2 separate regions of the Homo sapiens genome follow, and region 1 is linked to region 2. Evidence: promoter capture Hi-C in 16 types of primary human blood cells and fetal thymus (Javierre and others, 2016). All regions are on one chromosome and are shown on one strand. Each heading gives the region's core, a stretch centred on a gene start or on the middle of the fragment in contact. The rest is flanking DNA. Distances are from core to core; before and after follow the strand shown. Region 1 has its middle 4.6 kb from the start of LINC02168. Region 2 holds the start of NKD1 (NKD inhibitor of Wnt signaling pathway 1).

Region 1 (6,093 bases), core at 395-2,894, 260 kb before region 2:
GGAAAGAGGCAGAGATTTCACTGAACCGAGGGTTCCTCCCCTTTTTAGGCCATATGGGTAGCTTCCAGATGTTGCCATGGCATTTGTAAACTGTCATGGCGTTGGTGGGAGTGTCTTTAACATGATGATACTTTGTAATTAGTTCATAATGAGCAGTGAGGACAACCAGAGGTCACTTTTGTCGCCACCTTGGTTTAGGTGGGTTTTGGCCGGCTCCTTTACCACAACCTGTTTTATCTGCAAGGTCTTTGTGACCTGTATTTTGTGCCGACCTCTTAGCTCATCTTGTGACTTAGAATGCCTTAACCTGCTGGGAATGCAGCCCAGTAGGTCTCAGCCTCATTTTACCCAGCCCTTATTCAAGATGGAGCTGCTCTGGCTTAAACGCGTCTGGCACATACAGAGTTAAAAAAAAGAAAAGTTGCCAGATTTGTACAGATCAGGAACTTTTGCTTCTCTTAGAAATTTCTGACTTCGTCTGAAAAATCAGAACATAGGCCAGGTGCGGTGGCTTACGCCTGTAATCCCAGCACTTTGGGAGGCCGAGGCGGGTGGATCACGAGGTCGGGAGTTCAAGACAAGCCTGGCTAAGATGGCGAAACCCTGTCTCTATTAAAAATACAAAAAAATTAGCCAGGCATGGTGGCACTCACTGCTACGCAGGAGGCTGAGGCAGAGAACTGCTTGACCCCGGGAGGTGGAGGTTGCAGTGAGCTGAGATCGCACCACTGCACTCCAGCCTGGGCAGCAGAGCGAGACTCCGTCTCAAAAAAAAAAAAAAAAATCAGAATATACTGGCCTGCTTCTTCCTTTCCTTTACCATATCAGCTCTCCACCAACACTCCAACCTTCTCCCTTCCCTAAGGTACCTGCCTGGCCCCTGTAGGCAAGTGAGCTTGAGAGTCCCAGTCTAGGATCCTTCATTTTACAGATAGAGGGACTGCGGTTCATAGACAGACATCTTGCCAAGGATCATGGAGTGACCAGAGTCCAGTAGCTTGGGTATGACTGGTTTCACAGAGCACCCAGCTCGAACTGGTGGCCCCCAGCGAGGTGGATCGGCCCCTGAGTGGGCACTGTCCCTGCCTGGCTCTAGCCAAGGCCTGGAGGGAAGAGACTGCCCATAGTGAACCAAAGCTCAAGGCTCAAGGGCTCCTAGACAGTGGGGATGAAAATGAGCCAACACCATGCACTGGACGTTTGCCATTGAAAGCAACAGGCTGAACTGGGTAATTCTAGATGATCCAGATGTGGGTGAAGGAAATTCTTCTGTGGCATGCCAAGGAGAAAGGGACTGGAAAAGTCTTCCCGCCCAAAATAGCATGGTGCAAAAAGCACCCAGCTTGGAAATGCCCATGTGAAATGGCCGGTGGCCGCGCAGCTTCCTGAGAATCATTCAGTCTCCCGACAAATATGGGAGGAGGCCACAGTTGGTGCCCCCTGTTCTGGTTGCTGATGAGACAGGGACAATGTGGTTTTCACCCTCTGGGGGACCCACTGCCGAGCTGACAGATGAGTATAAAGCATTGCGCAAATGCAAGGACTCCTGGAGGGGGTGTGGGGACCGTGGGCACCTCGGGCTCACGTAGAAGGAGCTGAGACTTCGTCTCTACTCAGGCAAGTGCCTGGGAATATGGCTTTTGTATAGGGACAGGCTTGACTTCCTCCTGAGTGTGTCCACCTGAGGCAGGAGGTGGCAGGTTGGTGAGGAGGGAGAGGTGGGGATGGTGCAGGCCTAAGGCCTGGAAGAGCACTGGGGAGCCGCTGAGGGACAGGGTGGAATCAGGAGCTAGAGCCCTCTTGGCTGCAGAGTGTACGGCTGAGGCCACCAGCCCTGCCAGACTGTGGAATCCTCACAGTTCAGGAAGCCCAAGGAAGATTGGTGTTTGAGTCACTTAAGGAAGGCCTGGTGTGCATGGCAGGAAGAGGCTCCTCTCCACCCAGGAAAGCCTGCAGAGCTCGGACCAAGCGCCAGCCCCAGGCGCTGGGCCTCCCTAGTCAGAGCCTCGAGCTGCCCTACAATGTCCCAGGGTGAAATGGCCCCCCGTGAACACGGACTTCCCATGCTGGGGTTCTGTTCCAGCTCTGCCTCTAACTCTGCCCGTGGGTGCAGCCCTGCCTCCCTAGGCAGCAGCCTTTAAAGTTGGAGAACTTTAGAAAATTCTCCAACTTTAAAAAGAAAGATTGAGCTGGGACTGGGAGGCTGAGATGGGAGGGTTGCTTGAGCCCAGGTTTTCCAGCCTGGGCAACATAGTGAGACAGACCCTCTTGCTAATGAATTAAAGAAAGAAAAAGAGAGAGAGAGAAAGAGAGGGAGAAGGGGTGGACCCATCTCAATGGCTCCAGTGACTGAGGTCCTTGATGCTAATGGTAGTCCAGACTAGCTTTCTACTTTCTACACTGCTTTCTGGGCTGACTTTCAGTCTTTTTCTCGACCCTGTGCTGAGCCTGGGTTTTATCAAAAAAAGGAGAAAACACACAGGCACATGCACCTTGAGCTGGAGGTGACTACTCCAAGTCACTGAACTTCAACACTACAGAAAGTTTGTCAGATCCCAGAGTGGTGGCTCATGCCTGTAATAGAGCTTCCGGATGCCCAGGCAGGAGGATCACTTGAGGTCAGGAATTCAAGACCAGCCTGGGCAACATAACAAGATCACCTTCTCTACGAAAAATTTTTAAAATTGGCTGGGCATGGTGGTGCATGCCTGTAGTCCCAGATACTTGGGAGGCTGAGGCAGGAGGATCGCTTGAGCCCAGGAGTTCGAGACTAGCTTGGGCAACATAGTGAGATCCTGGTCTCATAAAAAATAAATTCATGAATGTGTCAAAACTCATCTAACTGCTTACTTAAAATATGTGTATGTTACTGTATGTAAATTACACCTCAGTGGAGTTGGTTAAAAAATAATAATGAAAGAAGGAAGGAGTGTAAACTTTGGAAAAGTCTGCAGCTGTCTCTCCTAAAGCTAAAATCCACCAATTCAAGAAGGATCACAGTAGGGTCATGTGTAGTAGCCCCAAACTGTCAGCAATGCCCCTTTCCATCAGTATGAGAACCATAAATAAACGATTGTATATTTACGTAAGAGAGCATCACATAGCTATGAAGTAGAATCACTGACATACACAACAGAGACAGTCTGAAGGATGCACACAGCATGACATCAGACACTACCTGAAGTGTGCACGATCTATGACTCCCTTTACATAAGTTCAAAACCTGGCAACAGGGATCTACAGTGACAGAAGTCAAAATAGTGGTAATCACTGGTGCAGGGAGGTAACTTGACTTGGGGGAGCAGAAGGAGCCTTGGAGGTGCTGGGAAAGGTCCCCAGGTTGACCTAATGTATGGCTGCAAGAGTGTGTGGAAATGTAAATTTCCTTGAGCCCTATACAGGGGCCCAGTGCCCTTTACGATAACAAGGTGCATCTCAGTAACAAAGAGAGAAAGGAAAAGGGAGCAGCCCATGCTTCCCCAGTGCCATTCAGGGTCTAGATTCTGGGCCACCCCTGGCAGCGCCCCTCCTCGCCAGCACTGTGGCTCTGTGCATAGCCCTGGACACGGACAGAATATGACAGAGCTGGAGCCCACACCCACAGCAGATAGGCTGGCAGGGGCGAAGGGGCTACCAGGGGCTGGAGGAAATAAAACTCAAGCTAAGCACAAGGCCGCCCTCCCAGGCAGGGTAGATGGCATGCTCTCTTGGCACTCTGGGCTATAGGATGGGCACCAAACACAGGCCACACTGAAGAGCAGCAGGCCCTTACCTGACTGAACAGTGGGAACCCTGCCAACTGCTCCCTAGCTGAGGGGACAGTGCTGGGGCCCAGCAGAGCCTTGCAGGCATCTCCAGAGAGACCGCAGAAGCAGGCAGGAGCTGAGGGAATCATCTTGGACCAACCTGCCCTCCTCCCACTCGTCATTTTTAGAGTCAATGCCAGGCTACTAGAGGCAGGTGGCCCTGACTTCAAGTCCCACTGGCTCTGCCTGACCCTCAGCTTTCTCATCAGATAATTAGGGATGAAGTTCTCACAAGAATAAGGGAGCATATATAGGAAGCACCTAACCCAGGGCCCAATGTTCACCAAATGGGGAAACTGAGGCCCAGAGAGCAGATACACACACCACAATCCAGGTAGGCCAGGCACAGTGGCTCAAGCTTGTAATCCTAGGACTTTGGGAGGTCGAGCTGGGAGGATTGCTTGATCAATTTCTTCCTCATCCCCTGCTCTGGGGTTTCCAGAATGCAGTCCCTCCCACAGTTGCTCTTCTACTTAGCCCAAACCACCTCATCTCTCCCACCTCCTCTGTCCACACAGCATGTTCCAGGCATGCGCCACTCCCCACAGCACTCTATGTTCAGGGTCTCTCTGTCCCAGAACCCCTATCATCTGAGGCTGGGAAAGGGTGACGGCATTTACCTATGGGGCAAGGGGGCTCCCCATGGTCACGCCTAGCTGCTGCTTTCGTCCTGCGGGACAGTCCCACAGCACAGGTCTGGTTAGGAAGTAACACCAGTGAGATCATTGAGCTCCTTTAGCCCTAGTTTCTCCAGCTGTGAAATAAAACTCTCCATTCTGTCTACTCAGAGGGTGGGGACAATGGGTGTGAAAAGGTTTTCTAGGTGGCTACCTGGAGAGTTGAACATAAAGCAGAGGGCGATGCTGGCTGAGTTTGATTTTTATACCAACTGGACAGAATACAGTCTTCCTCTTTCTTCCTTGCCTCCTGGCTCAGCTGCGTCAGTCTCCCCAGTGTGATCCTGACGTTTATTCCGTATGCTATCCTCTACAGGACCCTCACCACACAGAACGCTCCTCCTGGTCTGGGCATGGCTCCTGTTTTGATCGAAACCATTGGTGCACCCCAGAGCCCCCCACTGCCATGCCCACCCCTTTGATGTGGTGAGCTCTTGGCAGCCTCACCCTCCATGCCAGCTGCAATGCATTCCCTCCAGGGAGTCATAAAAGCCTCTGATCTCCAGGGGCCCAGCCACTGCCCTTCCAGACAGTCTTTTTCTTCCCAGGATGGCCAGGTCTCTTTTCAAAACTGGTGGAAGTTCACATGGGTCTTTATCATGCAAATGGCCTCAGAGGTGACCACTCCACACTCCCAAACACCTCAACGGTATTTGATTGACAGCCCATGCCCTTTCTGGTGTCTGTTCTCTCCTTCTGATAAATGGCCCCTTCCTGACAACCCTCCCTGCACATCCTGCCATTCAGTCAACCACGGATTTTAATTTAGATAATACCGACAAGAGAAAAACACAAACATGAAAGTCATCCGCAGTCACTGTCATCTCAGGAATCAATGTATTCCCTGCAAGCAAATTTTTCAGTACATGCACAATATTTTTTTTTTTTTTTTTTTTTTTGAGACAGGGTCTCCCTCTGTCACCACCCAGGCTGGAGTCCAGTGGCGCGATCTCGGCTCACTGCAACATCTGCCTTCTGCATTCAAGCAATTCTCCTGCCTCAGCCTCCTGAGTAGCTGGGATTACCGGCATGCCACCACAGCCCGGCTAATTTTTTTATTTTTAGTAGAGATGGGGTTTCACCATATTGGTCAGGCTGGTCTCAAACTCCTGACCCCAGGTGATCCGCCCACCTCAGCCTCCCAAAGTGCTGGGATTACAGGCATGAACCATCATGCCCAGCCACAAATTTTTGTATACACAAAATTAGATCTATTATCATACATAAGTTTTTAATAATCCACTTTTTTCACCTAATATAGTGTGAATTTTTGCTCATGTCCTTAAAAAAATTACATTCCAGAAGAATCATTAATGACTGCACATGGTTAATGGTTATGGTATAGTCTAGCTGTACCATAATTTATTACAGTCCTGCACATTTAACTTTTTCAGGTTTGGCCAGCATTATAAACAGTGCTGCTCGGAGTCTGATGGCTAATCTTGGGCACATCTGCGATCATGATTGCCTTAGAAAAATTTCCCAGCAACAGAATTGCTGGGGATGAGGTATGCACAATATGAAGGCTTTTGAAAACCAAGCACTCGTGTATCGGGCACCTACATGGCTCACAATTTGTGCAAAATGGGTTAGGGGTAGCAGGCAGAGAA
Region 2 (6,407 bases), core at 1,941-4,440:
GGGCCATCTGGGGCCAAGGTTGGTGAAAACCCAGGCGTCTGGGTCCCCAGCAGCAAGAACAACTCCCAAGGAGACAGAGGCCGGCCCCCTGCATAACAACTTTGATGGCTGCGGCCCACCCTCCAACCACCTGACACATGTCATGCCAACGGCTCTGAGCCTCACATCTTCAAAAGTACTTTGAACAAACATTAATGACCTCTCAGCATTTCTCTGAGAGAGGGGGTGAGGGAGAGAGGGGGACAGGCACCATCCCATGCTGTCCTCAGCTGGGGGAAGAAACTAGGCAACAGAATTCCGTGACTTCACCAAAGCCACAGACTTAAGCTGGGGCCCCCTCCCCACCCTCCCTCACTTCCCCCAATGGCAACTTTAGTGGCCTGCATTCCTCTCGCTGGGAACACTACTATTTAATTAAAAACGACAGACTTTTGTTTTCCTCTCCCTCTTTCCTCCTCCCTCCCATCCTCCCAGACTGGATGCCAAGGAGACCCACCAAAAACATGCGGGTAACATTTGTTATGGCTTTGAAGATAAAAGTCAATTGAAGTAAGCCCTCGCTGTATTTCAAGTTTTCCCTCTAGCATGGAGCAAGCTGCCTGGCAGTTTAGAAAAAAAAGAAAAGAAAAAGAAAAAGGAGGGACTGCAAATAAATGTCATTCTGCAGGAATACTTTGTAAAAATAAACAGGCTGAAAAAACCCAAAACTTGATTAATGGAAATCCACTCAGTTGGCCTCTGTCTGGAGCTGTAAATGCATTTGTTCATACGGCTAAATTAGACCGTTTTCGTTGGCCTTTAAATAAATAAGTAGATCAAAAACTAGAAAGGGCAGGGGAAGAAGGAGAGGTTTGTAGTTCTCTTTTTAAAGGGCCCCAACTGCAGTGCCCCCCGCCCACCAAGATTTGACCTTTACTAGGGGACAGCAGCTCCAAGTCCGACCCGGCCAACAGAAGACAGAGAAGCCCCCAGCTAAGCAGTGGCGGTGGAGGAGGACAGGGGAGCTTCTCCTAGGCCCAGAGGTTATTTCATCCACACACAGGAACTGACTTTATCCACAGGTCCACCTCCCGACACCAGCACTGCAAGCGAGCTGCCAGGTCCCACCACCCAAATACAAACACATCTGAAGTCTCCACTGGCCTCTCCCCAGCCCATGGATAAGACCAAAGAACTAACCAGACCTGAGACTCAGTCTATTCCCCCTCTAAGTTAAAAAAAAAAAAAAAAATTAAATGTCACATCAAAAAGTTGATTCATCCTTTGATCCTAGGCTTGCGCGAGTTCCACGCAGACTGCCTGAAAGCCCCGTGCAGAGTTCCGGAGCTCACAGGACATCTGTGAACGCCAAGTCCCAGGCCAGGAGCTGGGGCTGGACTCACTCATTCCCATCACACTTAGTGCTCCTCCAGGAACTCCAGCCTCAGAGACACACGGGGTGAAGGCTCAGGGCTCTGCCCAGGCTACAGTGGAATGAGGCCCTCTATCTCATATGCCAAGTAAGGGGTCTTCCAGGTCTCAGTCCCCCTAGATCTGCTACCCAGAGGGCCGCCTGCTCTACTGGGGTTCCTGTACAGGTGGTACTGATGAATGCCACAGACAATCAGAACATATTCAGATCCTGGGGCCAGCACAGCTCTGCCTTCCACCCAGACACCCCTAATACCCCCTTCTCTCTAGCCCCTACTCCACCTCCACCTTTGAATGCTGGTGGCAGAAACAAGGTAGAAGTCAGAGCAGGCCCCCAAATCCCGCCGGTACAGACACGATTCCCCATCAACTGGACCTTCACCACCTCCCCACCTAGGACCTTTCCCCCAGGCAGCCCTCTGCCTCCAGCTGGGCACTTCGAGGTTCTCCAAGGCATGCGGGCAGAGGGTCGCGTTGGTGGGGCAGGGGGCAGCTGAGAAGAGATTTTCAGACCCAGAAGCTGTGCAGGAAAGTGCTCAAAGTTGGGGTGCATGGGTTTGGGGACCCATCTCTGAGGCTGAAAGGAGGCCAGGAGGTGGGGCAGGGGTGGGGAATCATACCCGGGTGCTTCGGCCTATGGTGCCCGCCAACCGCAGCTGTCGGGGTCCCGAGACACCGCCCGGGCAGCGCTGTCTCCCGATCCACTCCTCGATGCCCTTCCGAGCCCAGGCAGCGCTCACGGCGAAGCTGTCACCTGGGACGGGGACGACATGAAGCCCCTGAGTCTGGCTCCAGGTGCCAAAAGTTACCCCCGCGGAGGGAAGAAGGAGGCGCGGTGGGAGGCGAAGGACCACGGCACGGGGGCCAGGAGGGGGTTCGCGGGCTGGGGCAGGAGCCAAGAGAGGGACGCGGGTAAGTAAAGGGGGGTTCAGCGAAGCCCTAGGAGCGAGGAGCCAGAAGGGGGCAAGAGGGGTGAGCAGTACCCCAGGAGGACGGGTTTAGGATCAGACCAGGGAGCACTGGCAGCCAGGACTGCGGAGGAGAGGGCTGGGGGTCAGGAGAGGGGCCGCAGTAGGTGCAGGAGCCAGGATATCGGAAGAAGGGCCGGGGGGCAGGAAGAGGGGGCAGGGTCTTGCGGGGAGGCGCTTGGGGGTCTGAAGAGAGGGTGCCGTGAGAGCCGAGGGCAGGGACGCGGGAGGGGGAGGGGTTGAGGGTCAGCGGTGGGAGCGCAGGACCGCGGGGAGCGGGTAGGAGGGACAGAGGAGGGGGCGCGAAGGCTGCTCAGGGAGCGGGCTTGGGGGGCCGGTGGCCGGAACTGGGGCTTCGGGGTGGCCCTGGTCATAAGACCTGGCGGGCTGGGCCGTTCTGCCGCGGCCGCGGTGTCCCCCGCGTCCATCCCCGAGGTCTGCGCCCCGCGCGCCCCTACCTTCCGGGCTCTCCCTGCGCTTGCACACGGCGGCTGCAGGCACATCGCGAGGCGGCGGCGGCGGCGGCAGCCGCGGCGGCGGGAGAAGGAAAGAAAGGAAGGGAGAGAGTTAGCGACCGCGGCGGCGACGGCGGCGGGGCCCGGGGCGAGCGCGCGGGCGGGGGCACTGACCCGGCTTGGAGTGAAGTTTCCCCATGCTGGGGCTGCGGCGGCCGGGAGCGTCCCTAAGCCATGCGCCCGGCCCGCGGGCCTGGCGCCTCCCTTGGCTCTCCTCCTCCCGAAGCAGCCCCCGAGCCGAGCGGAGCCCGAGGCGGCGCCGGGACGCGCTCCTGCCGCCGTCGCCGCGGCCCGACTGACGCCCGGGAGCGCCGAGCCCCCAGCCCGCCGCCGCGGCCCGCGCCTCCCCGCGCGCCCATTGGCCGGTGCGGCGCATCAAAGGCAAGGCTGGTTGCGGCGGGGGCGGGGCCGGAGGCGGGGCAGGGCGGGGACGAGGGCGGGGCGCTGACGGGAGGGGCGGGACACAGTCCGCGCTCCCTGCCGCGGTCTGGGGCCGGGGGCCGAGCTCCAGGGCTGGCGACCCGGCGGGGCGGCTTGTCCAGGAGGCGTATTGGGACAGAACAGCCCGGCCATCGCTAACTGTACTGTCACTTCCCTCCGCTCCACGTTCTCTCTAAACGGGCAGGGCGGGACTCGGCGGCTCCAATTTACAGGTGGGGAAACTGAGGTCGGGAGCGGAGACCTTAGCTGCTCAGGTGCAAGCTTCGGCAGCGCTGCCTTTTCCCAGTCTTCCCACGACCTACCTTCTGCAGAAAGTGTTCATTACCCGCCCCGTGACCCGCCCCCCACCACCGCACTCCTCTAGTTTCTTATTTGGGGAGTCCAGGAGGAGCCCCCAGCGCACCCCGGGCCAGTGTGAGCCCAGCCCTCTCCAGGCAGCGACAAATGTCCAAAGCGCCCCGTTATCAGCCAGTCTCTGGGATCTCCTCGTCCGGGGGCCCGTGGGTGCCCGCCCGGGTCGGGGCGCGCTGCCAAACTGCGCGGCCCGGAAGGGGGTAACCGCTGAGTCTTTGATCTTCCTTGGTTTCCGCTCCCCGCTGCAGTTCGCCAGACCCAAGGGTTTGTTTGTTTTGTCTGGGGAGGTCTCTGCGGGGAGGTCGCGCGGGGGGAGGGGGATGGTGGCGGTCGACATCAAGGGATTCCACCCCACCTTTGTGGCTCTCAGAACGCCTGCCCCCTTCTGGGGACACTGTGGGTCCGTGTTACGCTCGTCCTGGCACCAGGCAGCTCTGGCGTGGGAAAAGAAAACCCGCAGCTCAGAGTGAGACCAGCCCCGACCTTTGGAGTGAATTACCTGTGCTCAGTTTTGTGATCTGTATAATGGAGGCTCCATTCTGCCCTTTTTGCCGACTCTCTAGAGCAGCACTGCCCAATAGAAATATAATGTGGGCCACATTTGTAATTTTAAATTTTCTTGTCGCCACATCTTTTAGAAGTAAAAAGAAATAGATGAAATATTAATAATATATTTCGCTTAACTCAATACAGTCAGCCCTCCTTATTCACAGGTTCCACATCTGTGGCATCAACCATCTGTGGACTGAAAATATGCAAAAAGAATAATACAGCAAAAATAAAGAATAAAAAACTTTTTAATATAGTATAACAACTATTTACATAACATTTACATTGTATTAGGAATTACAAGGAATCTAGAGATGATTTAAAGTATTCAGAAGGATGTGTGTAGGTTATATGCAAATACTACAGGACATTTTATATAGCGGACTTGACATCTGGGGATTTGGGTATCCTCTAGGATCCTGGAACCAGTCCCCAAAGACACCAAGGGAACACCATATATCCAAAATAGTATAATTTCAAGATATAATGAGATATTTTACATTCTTTGTATTGCGCTAAGTCTTTAAAATTCAGTGTGTATTTTACACTTAAAACACATCTCAAAGACTAGCCATATTGCAAGTGACCATTTGCACTTGGCTAGTGGCTACTGCATTGGGCAGCATCGCTCTGGAAGATCTACATGTCTCAAAAGGACATTAGGAATTCACAGCCCCCCAGAGTCATAAATCTCTTCATCCAAGTGTCTTACTTTCATGTTCCAAGCTTCCTTTTTTAACACCCTTTTTGGTGGAAACGAAGGCTAATGTTATAAGCAGGTACACTAAAATCCTGTTGGCCAGGTGGTTTCATTTGAAGAGTGCTGAAACCACAAAAATATATTACTGTTGTCATTTTTATGTTACAATTCTTCATTCAGTACTTCTGATGTGCCAGTCCTCATCCTCCATCATGTGTAGCCCTCGCAACCACTCTCTGATGCAGACTCATACTTGTTCTAGAAAGGAGGGAACCTATTCAACTCAGAGAGGTGAACTCACTTGCCCAAGGTCACAAAGTTCATCCATGACCCAATTAGGAACTGAACTCCAATCTGTTGATTTCATTGCCCAGGCTTGTTTTCACTACATCAGGTTGTCCCAACACAGTGCAAAACTAATGTTCCACCACTAGAAAGAGAGTCTTCCATCTGGAAACAAATATGAAGGGCCAGCCATGTGACAACCATTGTTTTAGTCACCTAAGATACATCGGTGAACAAAATAGACAACTGCCACTCTCATCGAACTCCCACTCACCTAGGGGGAAGATAGGCAAGAAACAATAAATGATGAATTAGTAAACAGTGTAGTAAGTTACACCAGGGGTAACAGGCCATTTTTCTTTCTTTCCATCCCATAAGGACCTGACAGCAAACAATTTTGCCCTCTAGGGGACACTTGGTAATGCCTGGAGGTATCTAGTGGGTAGAGGCCAGGGTTGCTGCTACACATACCACAATGCATAAGGCAGCCCCCCCACCCTACCAGAACAAATGATCCAGCATCAAATGTGGGTAATGCTGAAGTAAGAACCCCTGAGCTGTAGGAACATGAAAAAGTGGGGCAGAACGGCGGGGGTCAGGTGTAGGAGGGAGGCAGGGGTTTGAGCATCTGAGTCGGAGTGGGCACCCTCTTTCAGACCCCTCAAAAGGCAATGGAATTCGTCTGGAATTCCTGTTTGCCTTTCTCACCCCTCCCTGCTGGTACCAGGGTGCCTCTAAATCAAAGCAAAACTTGGAGCATCCTTTCTCACAGTGCTTAGAAAGTTGGTTACTTTCTTAAACCGGTCCTGGCTTTCTTCTTCCATGAGAAAAAAGTATCCCCTCTTCCCCTTGGGAATTTCTTTTTACAGTTCAAAAAGAGATAAAAGCAAGAACTAAAACTGCAGTTAGCAGTTTGAGTCTTGCGGGGAGTAAATCCCAAATGTCCAGCCCAGACACAAAGCCCCCCTCCACCTTCACCCTGGTGCCTCCCAGCCCAGCAGGCGCCTGGGACTTCACTGCTATTGGAATCATGATACCCTTACCCGGATCTGGGGTGAGAACCCAAGAGATGGGCCTTGTGGCAAAATGTTAGTCTGTCCAGGTCTCTGAGAAGGGGGTCTCCAGGGGCCACCAGCATGCTGTCTACCTGGGGTGGCCATTCGGCCTCCGAGGGCTTCCCACCCC

The links. Contacts are between HindIII fragments. The CHiCAGO score rates a contact against its expected background, and 5 or more counts as called.
Region 1: a contact is called between a fragment that was not itself captured here and the fragment with the promoter of NKD1 in region 2, in 9 of 17 cell types (activated CD4 T cells, neutrophils, non-activated CD4 T cells and 6 more). The highest score is 11.3, in activated CD4 T cells.

Annotation. Positions count from the first base shown.
Region 1 is chr16:50,808,188-50,814,280 of GRCh38, reverse strand. No RefSeq gene overlaps it. Among named protein-coding and RNA genes, the nearest start is that of LINC02168, 4.6 kb to the right of the region's middle. RefSeq lists enhancers at 4,204-4,313, 4,140-5,139. The HindIII fragment of the contact is 5,044 bases long and covers 1-4,166 here.
Region 2 is chr16:50,545,179-50,551,585 of GRCh38, reverse strand. It overlaps NKD1 (NKD inhibitor of Wnt signaling pathway 1), which reads right to left and starts at 3,190. Exons shown (of 10, transcript NM_033119.5): 1 at 3,008-3,190; 2 at 2,837-2,869; 3 at 2,031-2,164. The coding sequence starts at 3,032. RefSeq lists silencers at 2,868-3,057, 3,098-3,547. The HindIII fragment of the contact is 5,196 bases long and covers 1-3,597 here.